Linked DNA regions of Homo sapiens: regions 1, 2, 4, 5, 6 and 7 are each linked to region 3. Evidence: promoter capture Hi-C in 16 types of primary human blood cells and fetal thymus (Javierre and others, 2016). All regions are on one chromosome and are shown on one strand. Each heading gives the region's core, a stretch centred on a gene start or on the middle of the fragment in contact. The rest is flanking DNA. Distances are from core to core; before and after follow the strand shown.

Evidence for each region. The method cuts DNA at HindIII sites, captures the fragments that hold promoters and counts their contacts. A CHiCAGO score of 5 or more calls a contact.
Region 1: a contact is called between a fragment that was not itself captured here and the fragment with the promoter of EDEM3 in region 3, in 1 of 17 cell types (activated CD4 T cells). The highest score is 5.5, in activated CD4 T cells.
Region 2: a contact is called between a fragment that was not itself captured here and the fragment with the promoter of EDEM3 in region 3, in 2 of 17 cell types (total CD4 T cells and naive CD4 T cells). The highest score is 7.4, in total CD4 T cells.
Region 4: a fragment that was not itself captured here is called in contact with the fragment with the promoter of EDEM3 in region 3 in 1 of 17 cell types (fetal thymus); the score reaches 5.7 in fetal thymus.
Region 5: a contact is called between the fragment with the promoter of DHX9 here and the fragment with the promoter of EDEM3 in region 3, in 1 of 17 cell types (fetal thymus). The highest score is 6.3, in fetal thymus.
Region 6: a contact is called between a fragment that was not itself captured here and the fragment with the promoter of EDEM3 in region 3, in 1 of 17 cell types (total B cells). The highest score is 5.5, in total B cells.
Region 7: a fragment that was not itself captured here is called in contact with the fragment with the promoter of EDEM3 in region 3 in 4 of 17 cell types (non-activated CD4 T cells, total CD4 T cells, fetal thymus and 1 more); the score reaches 8.2 in non-activated CD4 T cells.

What each region holds. Positions count from the first base shown.
Region 1 is chr1:186,296,506-186,299,687 of GRCh38, reverse strand. It overlaps PRG4 (proteoglycan 4), which reads right to left. Exons shown (of 13, transcript NM_005807.6): 2 at 2,737-2,842. The coding sequence starts at 2,812. Among named protein-coding and RNA genes, the nearest start is that of PRG4, 1.8 kb to the right of the region's middle. The HindIII fragment of the contact is 797 bases long and covers 1,224-2,020 here.
Region 2 is chr1:186,342,540-186,345,421 of GRCh38, reverse strand. TPR (translocated promoter region, nuclear basket protein) reads left to right here. Exons shown (of 51, transcript NM_003292.3): 25 at 844-1,047; 26 at 1,332-1,516; 27 at 1,949-2,096. Among named protein-coding and RNA genes, the nearest start is that of TPR, 31 kb to the left of the region's middle. RefSeq lists an enhancer at 707-1,906. The HindIII fragment of the contact is 1,456 bases long and covers 657-2,112 here.
Region 3 is chr1:184,753,189-184,756,145 of GRCh38, reverse strand. It overlaps EDEM3 (ER degradation enhancing alpha-mannosidase like protein 3), which reads left to right and starts at 1,288. Exons shown (of 20, transcript NM_025191.4): 1 at 1,288-1,657. The coding sequence starts at 1,500. LOC105371649 (a long non-coding RNA gene) reads right to left here and starts at 972. Exons shown (of 3, transcript XR_922357.4): 1 at 613-972. RefSeq lists enhancers at 1,035-1,134, 1,605-1,704. The HindIII fragment of the contact is 1,960 bases long and covers 1-1,654 here.
Region 4 is chr1:183,466,060-183,468,993 of GRCh38, reverse strand. The region is part of intron 3 of SMG7-AS1 (SMG7 antisense RNA 1); the gene reads left to right. Among named protein-coding and RNA genes, the nearest start is that of SMG7-AS1, 4.5 kb to the left of the region's middle. The HindIII fragment of the contact is 3,386 bases long and covers 1-2,934 here.
Region 5 is chr1:182,837,462-182,840,668 of GRCh38, reverse strand. It overlaps DHX9 (DExH-box helicase 9), which reads right to left and starts at 1,322. Exons shown (of 28, transcript NM_001357.5): 1 at 1,213-1,322. DHX9-AS1 (DHX9 antisense RNA 1) reads left to right here and starts at 1,078. Exons shown (of 2, transcript NR_148933.1): 1 at 1,078-1,357; 2 at 2,735-3,207. RefSeq lists a silencer at 1,003-1,432 and an enhancer at 856-1,697. The HindIII fragment of the contact is 6,331 bases long and covers 1-3,207 here.
Region 6 is chr1:186,385,694-186,388,775 of GRCh38, reverse strand. ODR4 (odr-4 GPCR localization factor homolog) reads right to left here. Exons shown (of 14, transcript NM_017847.6): 4 at 2,693-2,788; 5 at 228-334. Among named protein-coding and RNA genes, the nearest start is that of ODR4, 11 kb to the right of the region's middle. The HindIII fragment of the contact is 1,570 bases long and covers 989-2,558 here.
Region 7 is chr1:186,315,181-186,318,210 of GRCh38, reverse strand. TPR (translocated promoter region, nuclear basket protein) reads left to right here. Exons shown (of 51, transcript NM_003292.3): 49 at 611-729. Among named protein-coding and RNA genes, the nearest start is that of PRG4, 20 kb to the right of the region's middle. The HindIII fragment of the contact is 5,178 bases long and covers 1-3,030 here.

The sequences.
Region 1 (3,182 bases), core at 373-2,872, 1.5 Mb before region 3:
TAGTAGCCCTTTTTTAGAGCTAAGAAAGCTGAAACACAGAAATTTTGACAACTTGCTCATTATCACACGACTAGTTAATAGTTCCAGTATATTGGCATCATAGGTTAATTAATACCTCCCAATTATTTGTAGTGAACTCTTTTACCCTTATAATTGTCCTAATTTAGATAATACATTTTATGGTCACCTTAAGTAAACAATCCATCCAGAATTTGAACTCTGATATATCTTATTTTAAGCCTGAGATGTTTCCACCTGTCGCTTTGCCTCCCATTCCTGAGGATAAGTTTAAAGCACGCTGGTTGCACCAGCATAAACTTTACTGAGCTTTTTCTTCCTTAATTGGTGGGGATAACTGGATTTTTAAAATGTCAGGGGAGGCAGATGCTTACAACCACTGCTGAAGTGAGAACCCTTAAAATAACTGGGCATAACTATAAAGGTCATGAACAGAGGTTTTCCAGGCAACAAATAAGCAAACAATAACAAAAGCATACTCATTCTCAAATATTTTTTAAAAGTCATTTGGAAAACACCACCTTAAAACCCTCCCTGAGAAATGACTGCAGAAATGTGACAATGGAATCCATCCCTGGAATAGAAATTGGCAGGTGTACTGTCCTAAATCCACAAAGGAATGTTGAAACACACTGAAAACAAATCTTAAAAGAATAGAGTCCAGGAATGCCAAAGTCTGAATATGCAAATAAAACAGTAAATTGTAGGACAACTTTCAGAACTTTTTGCGTACATGAGTGCATAATGCATACAAAAATGTATATATAGTGTATGTATATAAATACATATATTATATATAAAGAAAAAAGAGAATGAGAAGAGGTTGAGAAAGCAAGAGAAGCAGACAAGACAGTATCAAGAGATTGCTCTTTTATAGTTGGCAGATTTCTGAAATAAGAAATCATCTGTAATTCCAGCACTTTGGGAGGCTGAGGCGGGCGGATCACCTGAGGTCAGGTGAGACCAGCCTGGCCAACATGGTGAAAACCTGTCTTTACTAAAAATACAAAAATTAACCGGGCATGGTGGCAGGGGCCTGTAATCCCAGCTACTCGGGAGGCTGAGACAGGAGAATCGCTTGAACCCCGTAGGTGGAGGTTGCAGTGAGCCAAGATTGTGCCACTGCACTCCAGACTGGGAGACAAAGCAAGACCCTGTCTCAAAAGAAAAAAAAAAAAGAGGAAATCATCCTTACAGGAAAAGCTTACTTTCATAGATTAGGTGTCTGTCCTACTTTTATTGCTATTAATTGTAACCATTAATTTTATTTATTTATTTATTTATTTTTGAGACAGAGTCTCACTCTGTTGCCCAGGCTGGAGTGCCATGATGCAAGCTCAGCTTAATGCAACCTCCACCTCCTGGATTCAAGATATCCTCTTGCCTCAGCCTCCGAATAGCTGGGATTACAGGCACACACTACCACACCTGGCTAATTTTTTTGTATTTTGTATAGAGACAAGATTTTGCCATGTTGCCCAGGCTGCTCTTGAACTCCAGACCTCAGGTGATCTGTCTCCCTAGGCCTCCCAGAATGCTGGGATTACAGGTGTGAGCCACCACACCCAGCCCCATTAATTTTAATTTGATTTATTTAATCACAATTAAAATGAAAGTAACACTGTTTTAGTGAACAACCAATTGTATCACAGAGGAAAAGGCAGTTTAGAAAGTGCCCCCAGTGTTGTGAACCTTGTCATAGTGTTACGAGAAAGCCGAAGGGTCTGGAGATACTGGAGTAGTCATCATTCTTATTGAATATTCACATTTGCTTTCATGTGTTTTCCTGTCTTTTCTTATCTAAACAATTCTGCAACTTATGCCTATGCAGACAGTTACCACTCATGTTCAGGTTTCATAAGAATCTCGTATTTTACTGGAAATGTTTACTTTAGAAACATAATTTCATCATAACTGTCATGAATCTTGATTTTTATTCTCTCAGATTTTGCTTATCAAAGGGGAACAAAAGGAAAAGAAAAGAAAAGAAAAATCCAAAGCTTGGCATTGTTACTATTAATCCCCCTAGATGGCATGCTAGCATCTTTTACTAATGTGATTTCACTGAATGTACTTTAACAGTCTCTAAAAATGAGTAACAAGAACTATTCATCCAGGACCTGTTTTGGGAGAACTGTGAAAAGTTTAATGTTATAACACAAAATGACAGTCACATCTGTATATGTCCATACCTGGATAAATAGTTCTTGTAAGAAAAAGAGAACATTTTCAAGACTAATAAAATGCCATTTGAAACACTATAGTTTATTATAATATGGTATCTATGTCTAAATGATGCCAAAATAAGTTATTTATCAATAATTTATTTGATTTTAAAAAACAAATTGTTCAACATATAGGCAAAAATTACATGTTATCTAAATATTGTTCTTTTTTAGTTATTTTTATGATACTATATAGCTCCAGCATAATTTTATGATGAACTGTCTGCACTTTTTAAACTTTCGAGAGAACCATAGAAATAACAAGTACCAAAATTATTCTTTATACAAGCTCAAAACTCTCAAAAGGAGAAAAAGATGAGAATTCCAAAGCACTTACAAACAGGCTACATGTTATATATTATTTTAAGGTTGTACAGTATATTAAACTCAAGCAAATATAAATTTTTAGAAATATATTTCCGTTGTTATAAAAATCAAGACTGAATGATTAGCAATAGTTGTTAAATAAAAGTATGTTCGATGGTTAAGCTACCTTGAGATGAAACTTGCTGAATCACGAAAACAGACAGCAGCAACAACAGGTAAATGGGAAGTGTTTTCCATGCCATCGTTGTTTTCAGGTACCGTAGGTACCCTTGCTGAAAATAAAATAAAAGTATCAGAAAACAGCTCTTTCATCTCACCACTAACTTAGGCTTGCATTATACACATTTCAGTAACTTTAAAAATGTAACAATAATAAAACCATCCCATTCTTGAAACAAGACTTTAAATCAGCTTTAATTTTATAGAAAATATTTGGCCATTAGACTTAATCTTATGCAGAACAAATCAAGTCACCCTCAGCCACGTTATTGACAGTTTTAATTCTTAAGAAATCTCCAATATAGAATAGACTTATCTTAAAACTCTAGCCAAAGTATGGCATGTACTTAACAGTGCAAGGTTAAAATTTTATCTTAAGGAAAATAATAACCT
Region 2 (2,882 bases), core at 135-2,634, 1.6 Mb before region 3:
GGCTAAAAATAAATACATAGGGCAATATTCATTAACAAAGCAATCTTGACAATGGGAAAATAAAAACAGGACTAGGAGACTAAAATTTGTACTTGGCTCTCATTTGCAAAAATTATTTTACTATTGTCCTTCACTAGATCTGATTATAAAATTACAGATACAGTTGATTAGAGGCAACCTTTGCTAACAAAACAAGAACCTCTTGATAACATTGTTAATGCATTACCAAGTTTGCGCAGATATCTATATACTATTTATAAAATGTTAAAAAAGTATCATTATTTTGAGTGTATGTATGTATGTGCACACAGTATTGAAGCTTTTTATAATTTTTTTATGAACAGGAAATGATAAAACAATTCAGGATTCAGAGTTACTAAAATGGTAGGATGGGATAGCAGTACATTTGAGCATATTGGTAATGTTCTTATTTTAAGTTGGGTGTCATGTTAATAGCTATTCATTTGCTTACTATTCTTTATTGCCTATATATATGTGACGTGTATATTGCTATTTTAAAATGTAATACAGGGAAGAAATGCTTCAAAGTAAATTTCATTAAAATCAATGGATCTATAATTTAGTACTTAATATAGCTGAGTTATGTTTAGCTTCTTATATCAAAAAGTTTGTCCAAATTGCTGGTCTTCTAAGCTTCATTTCTGACAGTTTTATAATATTAAGTAACTAAAGCATTAACTTTTAATTATTTTCTTATTTTGCTACATTTAGATTGTCTTTACTTTTATTATTTAAAAAGTCCAATGTGTATCTTTGGACAAGTGCTAACTAGTTTTATGGATTTTTAATCTTTGGTATCAATTGGGTAATAATTTCTTATAGGCTAAAATAGCTGTGGAAGCTCAGAATAAGTATGAGAGAGAATTGATGCTGCATGCTGCTGATGTTGAAGCTCTACAAGCTGCGAAGGAGCAGGTTTCAAAAATGGCATCAGTCCGTCAGCATTTGGAAGAAACAACACAGAAAGCAGAATCACAGTTGTTGGAGTGTAAAGCATCTTGGGAGGAAAGAGAGAGAATGTTAAAGGTATTATTGTAAATCTGAATAGAATGTTCTGTTGAATTGAAAGAGTTGTTTTTTTCTTTATTTTATAATGTTTTGAGATGGAGCCTCGCTCTGTCACCCATGCTGGAGTGCAATGGCGTGATATTGGGGTCACTGCAATCTCCACCTGCTGGGTTCAAGCAATTCTCCTGCCTCAGCCTCCCAAGTAGTCGGGATTACAGGCGTTAGCCACCGCGCCTGGCCAAGTTGTTTTTTTTAAATATGCATTGGAAAATCTGTTATTCTGATAGACTCTTGGCTTGCAGGATGAAGTTTCCAAATGTGTATGTCGCTGTGAAGATCTGGAGAAACAAAACAGATTACTTCATGATCAGATCGAAAAATTAAGTGACAAGGTCGTTGCCTCTGTGAAGGAAGGTGTACAAGGTCCACTGAATGTATCTCTCAGTGAAGAAGGAAAATCTCAAGAACAAATTTTGGAAATTCTCAGGTAAATCATGTTCTTACTGCTTCATTTCTGTGGTATAACAACTATGAAATGAAACTACAAATATATAAATTAGAGAAGGAGATTATACACGATTTTGATATAAAGTTCATTCTTTTATTTGTCAAAGAACTCATAACTTTTAACATTTACACATATTAAACAAGTGACTTTAAAGTTGAATCTGATAGTAAGAACTAGAGCAGTTTTCTCTTGAAAAACTAAATGCCTTTCAGATCATTTTAGAGATAAACATTCTAAAGCCAGTGTCTATAAAAGAAAATAGAAATACATCTCCCATTATTATTTATTATTAATGAAAACGTGTAATAGTTATTAAAGTCAATGATTTTTGTCATCTTACCAAATTACCTACGTTTTGTAATGTTGGCTTTTTAAAATTCACATAAAATTTTAATATCTGTATTTTTGTAGATTTATACGACGAGAAAAAGAAATTGCTGAAACTAGGTTTGAGGTGGCTCAGGTTGAGAGTCTGCGTTATCGACAAAGGGTTGAACTTTTAGAAAGAGAGCTGCAGGAACTGCAAGATAGTCTAAATGCTGAAAGGGAGAAAGTCCAGGTAGGTATACTAAGCTTTAAGAAAGCACTTGTTAAATCAAAAGAGAAGCACTCATTTATATCTCTACCATTTAACGTAATGTAAAATTTAACTTGAAGTAAGCATTCTTCTAAACTTGTAAATTCATTAAGCATTTGTTAAACACTAATATAGTATAGTGCTTAAAAGTAAAGGCTCTGTAACCAAACTGCCTGGTTTCAGATTCTAGCTTCATACCATTAGCTGTGGCCTTGGGTACATTGTTTAACTTCCCTGCTCTTAGTTTCTTCATCTGTAATATTTGGATAATAATGAGGTTTAATTGAGTTTGTGCACATGAAGCATTTAGAAGCATGTCTGGTATGTAGTGGGTGCTTAATAAATTCCAGCTATCTTAATTTATTATAGTTATGGATTATACGTGTGGATAGTCATTCTAGGATAAAGTGATTTAAACTGCTACAGAATATCTTTCTCACCCAAGGAGCAAAAAGTAGTAAAAACTAACAACCAAAGGAAAAGAAGCTGTGGTAGTGAAATGGATGATAATAAGACAAGCTTGACTCCTTACCCCACACTACCACCCAAAGCTTATTGTTGAGTTACTTCATTCTTAGGAGCTACAGTAATATACCCCCACCTCTAGAAGGAAGGAAATTAAGATCTTAAAACATTTATCTTCTTTTAACTGATGAGTAGTCAAAATGACTGTTAAGAAGAAACCATTGGACAGGGAAAAGTAAATAATGAATTTTATGGGATTTATGTGTTCAGCAAAAGCTAAAGGTTCCAGAATTATATCCTGTT
Region 3 (2,957 bases), core at 39-2,538:
AATTAGAGTACAGAGAGAAAAAGGACAAAAAGAAAACCTTAAGGGAACACCTGTATTTTAATATAAAGTAGCGAGAGAATGAAGGAAAACGGGTCAGCCAGAGAAGAGGTAAGAGGTTAAGAGGTAAGAGGTAAGGTGATAAAAGTCAAGGAAGAAACGTTTCCAGAAAGACCGCCGAATACTGCTTAAAGGACACGTAAGTAATTTACTGTGGTCACAGAGATCACATCGAAGCTCCTAAACTCCGCACCTATTGAATGACCACACTAGAAAAACAATGTGGTTTTTCAAGAGGAACCGATGTGTCATTTTACCAATAGTTAACCTGGGACTCGGTCATCAAAATTCATTGCAAGTTCCAATCTCCTTCATTAAACCTTCTTTGCAGCCCACACAGCTCTCCTTACATTGAGCTTTTGAGGTAACTATTATTAATCATGTACGAGGACCCACGTGCTCCTTCATCCTTGTAGTACTGCGCGGTGGTTAAATGCAAGGGCTTCCGAATCAGAGGCTGGATGGATTCTAATACAGCAGTGTGACGAGCTCTTGTTAACCAACTTTTCTAAGCCTCTGTTTTCTCGTCTGCAAAAGGGGGATGGTGGTACTTACTCTATCAGAGTTGAGAAGAGTGCATGAGATGATTGCGAGTAAAAACCTTAGCGCAATGCCTTCAAAGGCTCAATTCATTTTGCTGTTACTGTGTTTTGGAATTTCCCTGAGGGTAGACGACTACTCCAACACTATTCCCTAACGCAGCAGCACTGACATGGGGACAGTGCGCCTCATTCAGCCAGCTCTCTGGGAAACAACTTTCTGAGGAAGAGAGATAAACAGCTGACGGGTTTCCCGGGACTCCGCAGCCCACCGAGACAGGGTTGACTGTAGGGCGCCGAGGAAAGGGGGAGGTGGGATCCCAGCAACCACTGGCGACCTCGGAGGACCGCAAGTCCCAGGGTGCAGCGCGCCTACCCCGGGTAGAAGCGAGAGACACGGCTCCGAGTCGGCTCGCGGGAGAGCCGGGGAAGAAGCAGTGCACACTGGGACTGGTAGTCCTCAGGGGGCAACTCCGCGGGTCGGAGGCGGGTCGAAGCGAGAGATCCCTTCCCAGTCCCGCCTTTTGTCCACGTCTCACTTCTCCTGGCCAATGCCCTCTCCAGTCGCCGGAGACAGCCCCTCTCCCATGAGGTCTCCATTGGTCCTGAGGCTCTACGGCTTCGGCCCTACCCGGAAGTAACGTTGGGGAGGCGGTTTCCTAGACTACGACACCGGAAAGCTGGGGGAGGCGCTCCGGGATACTGAGGGCGGAGGGCGGTGGCAGCGCTGGCGCTGGGGACCGGCTTGGTGGCTTCGGGAAACAGTTTGGCGCCGGCGGCCGTCCGTGTTACTCCGCATCCCGCCCCGTCTCGGCACGGCTAGCAGCCCCCTGGCCACCAGCGTCCAGCAATGTGTCTCACCGGCCGGGCGTAGCAGCTGCGCGTGCGCGGAACCGCGGGGCCATGAGCGAAGCCGGCGGCCGGGGCTGTGGGTCCCCGGTTCCCCAGCGAGCGCGATGGAGACTAGTGGCGGCGACGGCCGCGTTCTGCCTGGTGTCGGCCACCTCCGTGTGGACGGCGGGGGCCGAGCCCATGAGTAGGGAGGAGAAACAGAAGCTTGGGTAAGGGTGCTGGCAGCCTGGGGTGGGTTTCTCGGTGAGGCTGACAACAGGAGGGGTGCCTGTCATTGCGACCCGGTCGCGTAGTGGCCTCTCCTGTCGCGATTGGAACGGCTCTTCCCGCGCGAGAACCCTAGAGGGGTGGACAGGGTCCGGGGAGGTGGGAACCGCCGCCCGCGACCTGACCTCGGGGGAGCTGACGGGGTGTCGCCCTGGCCGCCGGTGACATGTGCAGGCTCCTTGAAGCCAGGCGCGGTGTGTCAACGCGGCTGCCATGTCAGTGGCCCAAGAAGGGGGCTACAGCCCGCATCGCTGCGCGCTGGAGTTCTGCGGTTGGCTGCCTGTCGACCGAAGCATGGTTAGCTTTCTCGCGCAAGTGAGCTTCCAACTGGGAAAATGTTGCTGATCTCACAGTAGTTAAGGAAATGATGTTTACACCTGTTACGGAAAAGGGGGCGTTCATTGGAACTTGAACTTTACACATTTTACTATTTCCTTGCAGTGTTTTCTTGCACTGTATTTTCATAATAGAATGTTTGGGGGGAAATTATTCAAAAGTCTCAAGTATACCTATTCAGTAGTTTTTATCCGTCTTGGAAGTGTGTTAAAATTATCAATTCTATTTACACCATTTAATTCAGAGTAATACATACACGAGGTCCTACACATGAATAAGAAAAAAGCGAAGAACCAGTAGGAAATGGGAGAAAGGCATGAACGGTTAAGCCAGAAGAGGAAATGGAAGTGGTAAATAAACATGAAAAGTTACTCAACCTCCATAAACGTAGGAGATGCAGATTAAAACGAGGAGCTAGCTGGTTTTTGCCCATCAGATTAGTAAATATAATACAAAACACAAGGATACGGTTCTGGTTAGTTAAGGAATAGAAAAAAAAGGCTTAGTGAGAGTGTAAATTGCTGTAACTTATTGGTAGTATCTACTAAAATTTAAATTGTGCACACTTTGATTCATCAGTTCTATTTCTGAGAATCTACCCTAAGAAAATAAAAGCACTCTTAATGCAGAGATAGATCCAGCCTGGGCAACAAGAGCGAAACTCTGTCTCGAAAAAAAAAAAAAAAAGTGCATTTTGAAAGAACAGCTCTTCCTTGGAGGAAATGGTTCAATAGGGTACGTTCATATTATGGAATAATATTGAGACATTAAGAAGAAGGAAGTACGTCACTGGAAGCCTATCCAGAATATATTTCCAAAACAAAAAAAAATGCAAGTTGTAGAATAATATGTATAGTATCATCCCATGTTTTTTTTAAAAAAGAAAAAAAAAATCTGAGCTCAGAA
Region 4 (2,934 bases), core at 146-2,645, 1.3 Mb after region 3:
TACTCTGTCACCCAGGCTGGAGTGCAGTGGCACAATTTCAGCTCACTGCAACCTCTGCCTCCTGGGTTCAGGCAATTCTTGTGCTTCAGCCTCCCAAGTAGCTGGGACTACAGGTGTGTGCCACCACGCCCAGCTAATTTTTGTATTTTCAGTAGAGACAAGGTTCACCATGTTGGCCAGGCTGGTCTCAAACTCCTGACCTCAAGTGATCCACCTGCCTTGGCATCTCAAAGTTCTGGGATTACAGGTGTGAGCCACCTTGCCCAGTCCCTTTTGCTCTTTTATATCAAGCTAAAAAGAGTAAAATAGAACTACTACAGCATAACATTATTTTTTAAAATAATACTCTATCTAGTCTTTTTTTTTTTTAAATAGAGATGCAGCCTAACTGTATTGCCCAGGCTATCTATCTCTAACTCCTAGCCACAAGCAGTCCTCCCGCCTCAGCCTCACAAGTAGCTGGGATTTTAGGTGTGAATCACTGTACCCAGCTCTCAATCTAGTCTTTGTCTATAATACTCATAGGTCTGAACTCACATTCAAATCTATTGGCATCCAGTGCTAGAAGATAGATTTCTTTATTCATGACTGATTACAGAAAAGAACACAATATTAGGACATTGTGAGTCCAATGCTAGAGATTTAAAACTTTTCAAAAACCTTTTATCACATAAAACAGGCTAATATAACCACATTTCTGTCCAAGTAGATGGAATGGCCTCTTTTCAATCAAACACAGTACTTGCTGAGAAGCTACTCTTAACATTCTTACCAAATTTACCCAGAGCTTTGGTAACCTGACGATTAATACATAGCAGGCCTCCTCCCTTTTTATAATAATAGACAGCCTGTGCCATGACATCGTAACAAGCCCTAATTTATTTTAATATTTATCCTATATATTCTGAATGTTTATAAATCCTGTGCACAATTAGGAACTTGGTAAATCATTCTCATCAAAGCAGAAACACATTTATTATCAGTTGCATACTCAGTACACAATATGTGTGAAGCTAGCCATTCATTCCTCTTCAGTACCACACCTCAGACCATAGAGTTAAGTGATTCAATCAAATGAGTAATTCATTCTCTTCAAATAGTGAGTCAGATACAAATTGACATTTAAATTCAGGTCTCCTGTTGCTCAAGATTTCTTAGATCAAGGGTCAGTAGCCTTTTTCAAACAGTTTGCCAAGTGTATATTTATTCATTCACTCCAAAGAGGGAGTCTTTTAGCCTGAAGAATAGTCGGGAATCATTGCAGTCCAAGATTGAAGAAAAGAAACTTCTGATTTGGGAGGCACTGAGGTGACAGTTGGGGAATAATATTCAGAGCTTTCTCTCCCCCTTCACTTCTCCATTCTCCTAATATTTACTAAGGGAAATCTTACTATCTTCAAGGTTTCCCCCAACTCCCAATAAGCAAATACCTCTGAGAAATTACCACACCTAAAATTCTTATCTGCTGATTTAATGGACACAATCTGGAGAAGACAAGAAGAGATGCTCATAGGAAAGATTGAAAAGTATTGAAAAACAAAAACAAAAACCGTAGCCTCTCTTATTTTATTGGCAGAAGGCCTTAGTGTTCATGCATCTCTTTACTACCCGAAGCACAGTACTTACTGAAATCATCTTGTGGGTCCCTAATCTAACAGCAACATATTTCATGTCAAAGTCTGTTCAGTTACCTAGAAGTTGCCATATTTTTCTTAAAACACCCAACTAAAATAACATAATCTTTTAATATTTTCTAGTTTCTACTTTCCTAACTTTTATCAGGTAGATAGTAATTTGGAGCACTAAGAATGTGATACTGATATTCATTGTCATAAATCTGTTCTTCAAAACCATGGGAAACATGTACATGCATGTACACATGCACACACTGATATGGTTTGGCCCTATGTCCCTGCCCAAATCTGATCTCTATTTATAATCCCCACATGTTGACGGAGGGACCTGTAATCCCCACGTGTCCAGGGAGGGAGGTGATTGGATCATGGGGGTGGTTTCCCCCATGCTGTTCTCATGAGTGAGTGAGTTCTCACAAGATCTTATGTTTTTGTAAGTGTTTGGAACTTCCTCCTTTGTTTGTCTCTCCCTGCTGCCTTGTAAAGAAGGTCCATTTTTCCCCTTCCACCATGATTGTAAGTTTCCTGAGGCCTCCCCAACTATATGGAACTGTGAGTCAATTAAACCCCCTTTGCTTATAAATTACCCAGTCTCGGGTAGTATCTTTATAGCAGTGTGAAAACGAAATAACACACACCTTCCTCTTTTCCCTGACATTATTATTGTACCAATTCAATTGGCAATTCAAGTTAAAATGTGATAAAGATGAAAAGCAAAGAAACTTAGGACTTAGGTCCATCACTTCAAGGCATACTAAGAATATGCATCCAAGCACTTTTTTGCTTTGCTTAACAATCCCAGGGTCTTTTCTATTCTCAGAAAACTTTTACATATCAAAAACCTGGATAGTTTGTTCCATATATGTAAAAGTTCTTTCTTTTCTTTTTCTTTTTCTTTCTTTCTTTCTTTTTTTTTTTTTTTTTTTTTGAGACAGGGTCTTGCTCTGTTGCCCAGGCTGGAGTATAGTGGCATGATCACAGCTCACTGCAGCCTCAACCCCCGGGCTCAAGTAATTCCCCTGCCTCAGCCTCTCGAGTAGCTAGGACTACAGGCTTCCCTCACGATGCCCAGCTAATTTTTTTATTTTTTGTAGAAACAGCAGTCTCCCTATGTTGCCCAGGCTGGTCTCAAACTCCTGGGCTCAAGAACCTCCAGCCTTGGCTTCCCAAAGTAATGGGATTACAGGTGAGCCACCTCACCTGGTCATATTTGTTAAAATTCTTAATATTAGCCTGGCACAGTGGCAGGTGCCTATAATCTCAGCTACTCAGGAGGCTGAGCCAGGTGGATCACTTGAGC
Region 5 (3,207 bases), core at 73-2,572, 1.9 Mb after region 3:
GAAGGGGAAACTGAGACAAAGAATATCTTGCTTCAGGAAGACAGAGCTCCTAATTATAAGAGCAAGAATTCGGGCGGGCGCGGAGGCTCACGCCTGTAATCCCAGCACTTTGGTAGGCCAAGGCAGGCGGATCACGAGGTCGAGAGATCGAGACCATCCTGGCCAACATGATGAAACCCCGTCTCTACTAAAAATACAAAAATTAGCTGGGCGTGGTGGCGCGCGCCTGTAGTCCCAGCTACTCCGGAGGCTGAGGCAGGAGAATCACTTGAACCCGGGAGACCGACGTTGCTGTGAGCCGCCATCGCGCCACTGCACTCCAGTCTGGCGACAGAGCGAGACTCTTGCAAAAAAAAAAAAAAAAAAAAAGGCGCAAGAATTCCAGAAAACGTAGCCTGACTCCAGATCTACTACCTTCCACCACTACGCATTTCTGCTTCAAAATACGTCCCCTATCCATTCGTTTCTCCCCATCTCTCCTGCCACCACTACTGCACACCCGGGCTAGTGAAATATTGTCCTACACGGTTTTTGTTTCCACTCTTGCCACCCTAAAACCCATTCTCCTTTGAAGGCCTTCTCGCCACACTCCAGTCACATGGCCTGCTTTCAGCTCCCGCCCAGTTTCTGCCCTTAAGCGATAACTAATCCCTTCCGCTTCTGCAGGCTCTGCTTTTCCTTCGCGTTGGCCGAGGTTATCAGCTCAAAGCCTCCCTCCTTCGAGACGCCTTACCTCGCTATACTAGCCAAAGGCGCTCTCCCTTTACATTCTTCAATTTTTTTTCCTCTACCCACAAGGCCTGCACGACGGCGCCAGTTATTCGTGGCTTGAATGAATGAAGAGCCCTAGGCCAGTGGCGCCCCGGCGGCAACCACCACAGGCGAAGCACCCCCTTCCCTCAGCCGCCGCGGTGCCCCGGCGTACGCAGGCCAGAGGAGGAAGCGCGCTTTGCCTGCTAGAGGCAGCAGCGGGAAACGCTGGGCGGAGGAGAGGGGAGGGGGCCACAGGCTGCCCGGACGGCGCAAGCGCATCGCGGCGAGGCGCGCACGCAACCCGCAATCCGGGGACCCGCGGGCGGCTCGTCCCTTCCCCCACCCCCAGCCGCCGCCGCCGCCCGCGCTTCGCAACAAAGCCGGCTGCGGAGCCATGGTCCACGGCGCCCGCCCGCGACCCCGCCGCCCCGCATGGTAGCCGGAACGTCTCTCCCTTACCAGCCTTCGCTTCCTGGTGCCCAGCTCTTAGGACCGTGTGTGACTCTGGCCTTCTACCGAGACAACAGAGAAACGCACAGCAACTCGCATGGAGGAATCGGCGAAATGGCTCCGACCGCGGCGCTAGGGGGCGGGGCCAGCGAGCGTACGCATGCGCAGAGCGCGTGCCAGGGCGGGGGATGGCGAGGGCGCGCCAATGGAGGGGGCGGGGCTCAGCAACCTCGCGGCGCGGAAGGGTTTCGTTGCTAGGGAGATGGGCTGAGCCGGGCGGGCATCGCGCCAGACCTGCTACTCTGGATAATCCACTCTCCTGGATAATCCACTACCCTGGATAATCGGCTGCCCGCTTTTGCGCATGTTAGGGAGTTGACGGCCTGTAGCATTCTGATGCAGCAAAATATTTCGCAGGGTCTGTCATAGGGATCTCCGGTGAGAGGAGGTTCCCTTCGAAGGCAGAACTGGAAACCTTGCTGCTAACTTGGTAGGGTTGTTGAGATAATTACATGAGATGGCATATGAAGGGCGGCTTAGTTCAATACCTGGCATGTAGTAGGTGTTCAGTGGGCGTAGTTACCGGATTGATTCAGATAGTCTGAACGCCAGTGTCTCTTGAAAGAAATAAACTGGCCGGGCGTGGTGACTGTAATCCCAGCACTTTGGGAGGCCGAGGTGGGCGAATCACTTGGGGTCAGGAGTTTGAGACCAGCCTGGCCAGCGTGGTGAAACCCCGTTTCTACTAAAAAAAAAAAAAAAAATACAAAAATTAGCCGGGCATGGGGGCGGGCGCCTGCAATCCCAGCTGCTTGGGTGGCTGGGCGGGCTCCTGCAATCCCAGCTACTCGGGAGGCTGAGGCAGGAGAATCGCTTGAACCCCGGGGTCGGGGGCGGAGGCGGAGGTTGCAGTGGGCCGAGATCACGCCATTTTCTGGGCGAGAGAGCGAGACTCCGTCTCAAAAAAAAAAAAAAAAACCATGAAAGAAATAAGCTCAGTGAAGGCGGGCATTCTGCCTGGCTAACGCAGGTCGCTCCTTGCCGTGCCTGGAACATTACTGTAAGTGCTCAGCAAACTACTTTAAGGTAGGAATAAAATCTGCAAGGTTGCTTTTGTTTAAATTGGATAACCTTTTGTGTTCCAAGTCTTTGGAGTAATTTTGTGTTCCAAGTCTTTGGAATAATTGTGTCCTTAATTATTATACTAGTCACTGTTAAATTTTGAAACTCCAGTGCGTCCCATGAAGGTAATGATACAAAACATTTCCAGCTGGGATTGTTCCAGGGAATCCAGACTAATCAATTATCTGGGCTCATTATATCTATGGATCTTTATTTTTCACCTCTTTCCTTATGTTTTTCTTAATCCTTCTAGCTGATAGTGATCACTCCCTTTAAAACTGTCATTCTTAAAATCAGAACAACATAGTTTATCATTTACTTATTATTTTCTTCATGTGATTGTTCTCCTTAATTAAGAATAAAATCATTGAAGGAAAGACCTTAATTTTTTTTTTTTTGTACCCTTCAGGGTGTTGAAAGCAGCAGGGGCCTAGAAGACATTAAACCGATACCACAGAAATACAAAGGATCATTAGAGACTATTATGAACAACTATATGCCAACAAATTGGAAACCAAATGGAAATGGATAAATTCCTGAACAGATACAACTTACCAAAATTGGACCAAGAAGAAATAGAAAACCTGAAAAGACCAACTATGAGTAATGAGATTAAATCAGTAATATAGAGTCTCCCATCAAAGAAAAGTCCAGGCCCTGATGGCTTCACTGCTGAATTCTACTGAACAGTTAAAGAAGAACTCATACCAGTTCTCAAACTCATCCTGTGAGGGCAGCATTACCCTGATACCAAAACTAGATATGGACACAAGAAAAAAAATCTATAGGCCAGTATCCCTGATGAACATAGATGCAAGAATCCTCAACAAGACCAGGTGTGGTGGTTCATGCCTGTAATCCCAGCACTTTGGGAGGCCAAGG
Region 6 (3,082 bases), core at 524-3,023, 1.6 Mb before region 3:
AGTCTTTCATATTACAGATCTCAAGCTTTTTATCACCTTGGGACATGATTAACAACCATTATTGCTATTATTATTATTGGTGGCTCTAATTCCATGTTATTTACAGAAAAATCTTACAAAACTATGCCTATTTTTTAAATGATGATTTAAATAAATAGCAAAAAAACCTTGCAAGAATATTATTTTGGTACTTTGTACTTTTAAACCATAAACTGAACAAAAGATACTTTTTTGTAGAAGCACAAATGTGAAGTGTCACTCGTTCTGAGACTTCCTCCTCTGTGAAATTCCACAATCTCTTTCTATTTATAGACTTTTCCACAGCAAACATTAGCTGAAAGAGAGAAAAATACACACTAATTGAATGTAAAATGAAAAAAAAAGATGAGTGTTGAAATAGGCAATTATAATGTCCCCAACTCTCATTTAGCTTTAAAATTCCATGATTCTTTATTTATTGGAGAAGGGGTCTCACTATGTTGCTCAAGCTGGCCTTGAACACCTGGGCTCAAGTGATTCTCTCACCTCAGCTTCCCAAGTAACTGGGACTACAGGTGTGTGCCACCATTAATTTTTCTTTTCTTCAAATTAAAGACTGGAGCTAATTACTAACATTTTTGAATTCCTTTTAGGAAATTACAGAAAAATTGGGTTTAAATAAAAAAATTTAATTCACTATCATTAGAGATTAACTGGACACAAAAAATTAATTTGGGGCAACTAGAATTTATATAAACTATAGAACAGAGACTTTAATTAGAATGAGAAATGATAAGTGATTTTAACTAAAGAAATCAAGCATGTCACCCATTTAGCATTTCTTATTTAAACGTCACACAAGACTTAAGGCAATATATAACAACATATAAAATATAGTAATAACAAATTGAAAGTTAAAGTAGAATAGTGAGATAAATTTGTGTCAGAAATAAGAATTATAAAAATGCATACTTGATGTAAGGGGTGGTAATACATTTCGGTCTAAGCTTTCTAACAATAATGTGCAGAGAGAAATCTAATCTGTAACCTAATTCACATGGTCTGTAAGCTAAAAACAATCATCAGAGGAGGCACAACCTTCTTCATAATATAAAAAGAAATTCTTCCGGAAACACAATATTAATGTAATATGATGAATAAAGTCCTTAACAATAATGGGTGACACTGACAAGTTTTATAAGGCTGTTTCTTGTAGTGTTTGTCAGTGTAGCCAGTGGAAACAATTAGATAATTGAAACTCAGTAATGTCAGAGATAAAGCATTTCTAAAGTTTTATATACTTTTTAGGAACAAAAGATACAAAAGCAAGGAAAGTGGGCCTGGCTGTATCTCTCTAGCACTGGGCCCACATTCAACCCCCTCAATTCAGCACCAGCCAAAAAAGGTTGCACAATGAATGCTATTAATATTAAATACGCATAGATTTCGGTTAAATTTCAAAATGCCAAAGAGAATGAACAATTGTAAACAAGGTAAATTTATTTAAGATGGAAAAGTTGGCAGAGGGTTAAACAATTTAGCAGGGAGGAGAATATCTCCATTTTCTTCCCTTACTCCCTTAGGTGCAAATATCAAAGGCTTGAGGCTGGGACATCTGACAGGACAGGTTACAAGACTGAAAAAATCTGTAACATCTGAAGTTCTCAGCTGTATATTTTTTACCTAAAAAATGTTTTTCTGGGATACTGTTGGGGTTGGGTTTTATATGTCTCAAGATTTTAAGGTTCCCCCTCTTTTGGGGTATGAAATACCCTTCAAAAAGTTCATGTGGATCCTGAATGCTAAAAGAGCTGGCTACACAGAATCTACCTTAGGTTTGGGTTTAAGGGAAAACAGCATGTGGACCTTCATATTTACTTTTACACTATGTTACCCAATTCTCTGGTGCAGCAATTAAGCAAAAAACACAGGAGATTTCTGATAGATACTGTGTCCAGGAATAATCTGATTGTTTATGTTTTACTCTCAGGATCTCCGGAGAATTGAGAAGAAGGTAAAGAATTTCAGCACCTATTAATTTCATGTTACAGTAATCACTAGGTACTAAATGGAAGGTGTGACAGAATACTGCTATTGCATAAGAAAAACTGTTTAAAGCATTATAATTTGTTTCCTAATAGTCAGAAATTACCTCTAAAATAAAGATTATTTTAAAATATGTAGTTTTTCTGTCAAAAAGAATTACTTCCACAAAGATGCCTTTTTTACAACAAATTATTAGATCCAAGTGACTTTGAGTTCTTAATATTATAATTAATCATTTGAATTTTTCAATATTTTACAATGAATTATTTGTTTGCATAATTTACATGGAATTACTGTCATTAGTCATGGTTATTATTGAGAAGTAAATAATTTAACTTTTTAACTTGAGGAAAGAATAGCTTTTTCAAATTTGTATGAAATGCCATATGGGCTGATGATAGCCCTGTTTTGGGTAGTGTACTAAATAAAGAATAAAATTACCCATGGAAAAAATAATAAATAAAATGTGTAGTTTTTAAAAATATAAACATTTTTTACACTCAAGATATCCAAGCAATTGAGTGACAAAAGCTTTTTCAATGTAACCCCAACAAAAAGAATTATGGAAAACAAATGTAAATATGCCTAGAATCATTACACATACTCATAATCAGTAAAAATAACATATAACTGATTTCATTAAGAATTTTCGATATATCAAACTTACTCTACGCAGGGCATTTTGAAAATCATTTGCCAGTTCTAAAGTAGTAATAATAAATACTCCAAGAACTAAAAGTCCCCCTGGTAGCATTCTGGATACCTAAAAATAGAAATATATTATTAGCTAACAAATTGGCATTATATGCAATCCTTTCTGTTTGAGAAACTGTCTGCTTAGCATGTCCTTAGCTTTTCACCTTAAAACTACTTTATAAATAAAACTATCTGATAACAACATCCTTTAGCTACATCAATAAATAAATCCTTTTCTCAGGAGATCAAAGACTGAAATATTTTTTCAATGGCGTCCCACCATCAGCTAAATAAAATGAAGTTTTATTTTAGATTGATATTTCAGACTTTCTAGGATCTGGTCAATGATGTTTATACCCTC
Region 7 (3,030 bases), core at 91-2,590, 1.6 Mb before region 3:
ATTACAGGCACCCGCCACCATGCCTGGCTAATTTTTGTAGTCATTTTGTACTGAAATTTTCACATGACTTAAACTGGAGCAGATTCATGTTATTCTTGTACTGTCTCCCTCATTTGTGTCTTGAATGGAAGAGAGAAAGATGGATGTAGCCACTGAGCCAGGAATTTTACATACCCATAGCCTATCTCATCTGGGCTAGAGCCCGTGGTTTGGTTACTGGTATACTATTTAGTAGTGTGACTGTTGTGAACTTTTTATAGTACTGTGCTTTCCTAAAATGTTGTTTTGAGATTTATCAAAATCTGGACCATATATTTCTTATGAGTGTCAAGAATGTGAACATCCTTGTCAAAAGGAAACATAAGAAGAGGAAAATCATAAACTAAAATTGGAACATGTCATAGTGAGAAAAGGAATGAGGAAAAAACAATTTGAGCTCTTTTCCCCCCTGCTCCTTTGAAAAATATATATGGTAACCAAATCAGTCTATAATTTTTTGTTTAAGGGAGCTCTGGATTACTTAAGTGATAAAATAGATTTAAAAGAGTGGATATAATTTATGATTGACTGTAGGATCAGTTTTGTATTTTCTCATTTTTCTTTTCCTTAGTATTAGTTCAGAAGCAGGCCTAGAAATTGATAGCCAGCAGGAAGAAGAGCCGGTTCAAGCATCTGATGAGTCAGATCTCCCCTCCACCAGCCAGGATCCTCCTTCTAGCTCATCTGTAGGTGAGTCCCTGCCCTTGACTGCAATACAGTTTTTATACATCAAACTTGTTTGTGAAAACACTGCTTTATTAGTAACAAATTAATAATCCTTTTTTCCTGTATTTTAAAATGCTTTATTTAAAAGAGAAATTTTATTATTAAAAGGAACTTGGTTTATATTGAAATAATTATTCTAAGAATATTCTGGCATCAATAATAAGAAATATGGACATGGTGGATCCATCCCAAAAGAATAGCTCACTCATGTTTCATCTAGACTATTGGTTGTCAACATATGTTTTGTAGAGCTCTTGGGTCTTTTAGAGGTGCTACAGGGGTTGTAGTGGGTGGGTATACTGGGAGGGAGGCTAAGGAGTGCTAGGGCACTCCAGGCCTCTTGCCTCTGTTTGAACCACAGCAGCTCCATTTTTATGTGTTCTACATATTGGGGTTCTACATGAGATTTGATGTGGAGAGTTAAGGGGTAAGAGCTCAGTTGCTTAAAAAAATTGTTTGAAATTTACTGATGTAAACAGTTTCAGAGTTTGGCTTTTCAAATTTTTGAAGTTATTTTGAAAAAAAGATATGTATTATTCCTGTAATAGAAGTTATTTTTTAGAATAACAGTTAGCATTTACTGAACACTTAACTGTGTATCATGTAGTATTCTGAGCCCTTTACTTATATTTCCTTATTTGATTCTCGCAACTCAGTGCGGTAGATATTCATCCACATTTTATAGATATGGAAGCTGAGGCACAGAAAGGGTGAATAACCTCTTCAAAGTCAAATAGCTAATAAGTAACGGACAAGCAACGATTACACTGAAGAAGTCTGGCTCCAGAGACCCCACTCTTGAACAATACACTATACTAGCTCATCTATCTCAAATTTTTAGACAGAGAATTACCTTTACTATTAAGGATATACAGTACTTGGTCATTCAGTCTGATTATTTTAATTTTTAATTGTTTACAGTGGTAATTCTCAAACTCTGCCATGGAACCTTCAGATTTTATGGCAGACCTGCTCAGTTATTTATTACTTTTTTAAATCACAGAACTTTGCTATCCCAAAATCTCTTCCCCTGATTCTCAGCTGCTTTGATGTGACACATCAGCCTATTGGTTAATATCCCTAATATCTACCGTTTCATATCTGGTAACTTTAAATTTCTATACATTATGTAATATGGATACTCATAACTAATCTTGCAATCAGGATTTAAAATAATGTATGTAAATTACAGAACCATTTCATACGCAGTAAGGCTTAAAAAATGTATAACAATCATATTAATGATTACTGAAGTTTTGTGCCCCCAGTTATATTTTGACGTCCCATAAAAATTGGCTTTCCTCAATAGAATTAGCACTTGTTATATCTTATCAGAGCTTGTATGAGAAAATATGGTTGTTTCCTTTAAAGTATAATATGAAATTACGATGTCTTTAAATTTATTTGATAATGTAAAACTGTACTTCCCCCATCTGAGTATTCATTTGGTCAACAAATATTTGACAGTGTAGCAGGCAGTTTCATAGGAAGCATCACTAAGAGAAGGTGACATTTAAGAGCTGAAAGAAGAAAGGGATCAAAGCTGTGCAGTTACTTAATGAAGAGCATACTAGATCAAAGAGAATATTAATAGATGCCAAGTCCATAAGGCAGCAGTGTGTCTGCTTGTGTTCAGGGTCAACAAGGAGGCCACTGTGGCTGGAGCACAGTGAGTGAGAACAGAGAGTAGCAGGAGATATGTTAAGAGGCGGGAGAGGATAGATCGAGTAGATCATTGTAATTGCCTTGGCTGTCATGGATACCAGAAGCTATTGGAGGGCTTCACACAGAATAATGACATGACATGATCTGATCAGTTTGGCTGCTGCATACAGAAGAGATTAAAAATGAATAATGGACAGAAACGAGAAACTTTGGAGGCTACTGCAGTAAGTCAGGAAAAGATAGTAATGGCTTAGGTGAGATGGTAGAGTTAGGATTGTGAGAAGTTGTCAGATTTGGGATATATATTTAAATTTGAGCATTCATGATTTGCTAATGATTGCATTTGGGGTGTCTGAAAAAGAATCAGATATAATTTGTGTTCTGTTGTAGGCTGTTTGCTGAGGGACTTGATATTTTGTTTTCTGTTGTATTTCTCAGCACCTGGCAGTATGTTTGATACATGGGTAGTCAACAAGTAAATATTTATTAATATAAGTGAATGAATGAAAAAAAGTCAAGCACTTCTGGTTTTTTTTTGGTGTTTTTTTTTTGTTTGTTTGTTTGTTTTTTTTTTGAGACAGGGCCTTGGTCTGCCTGGTT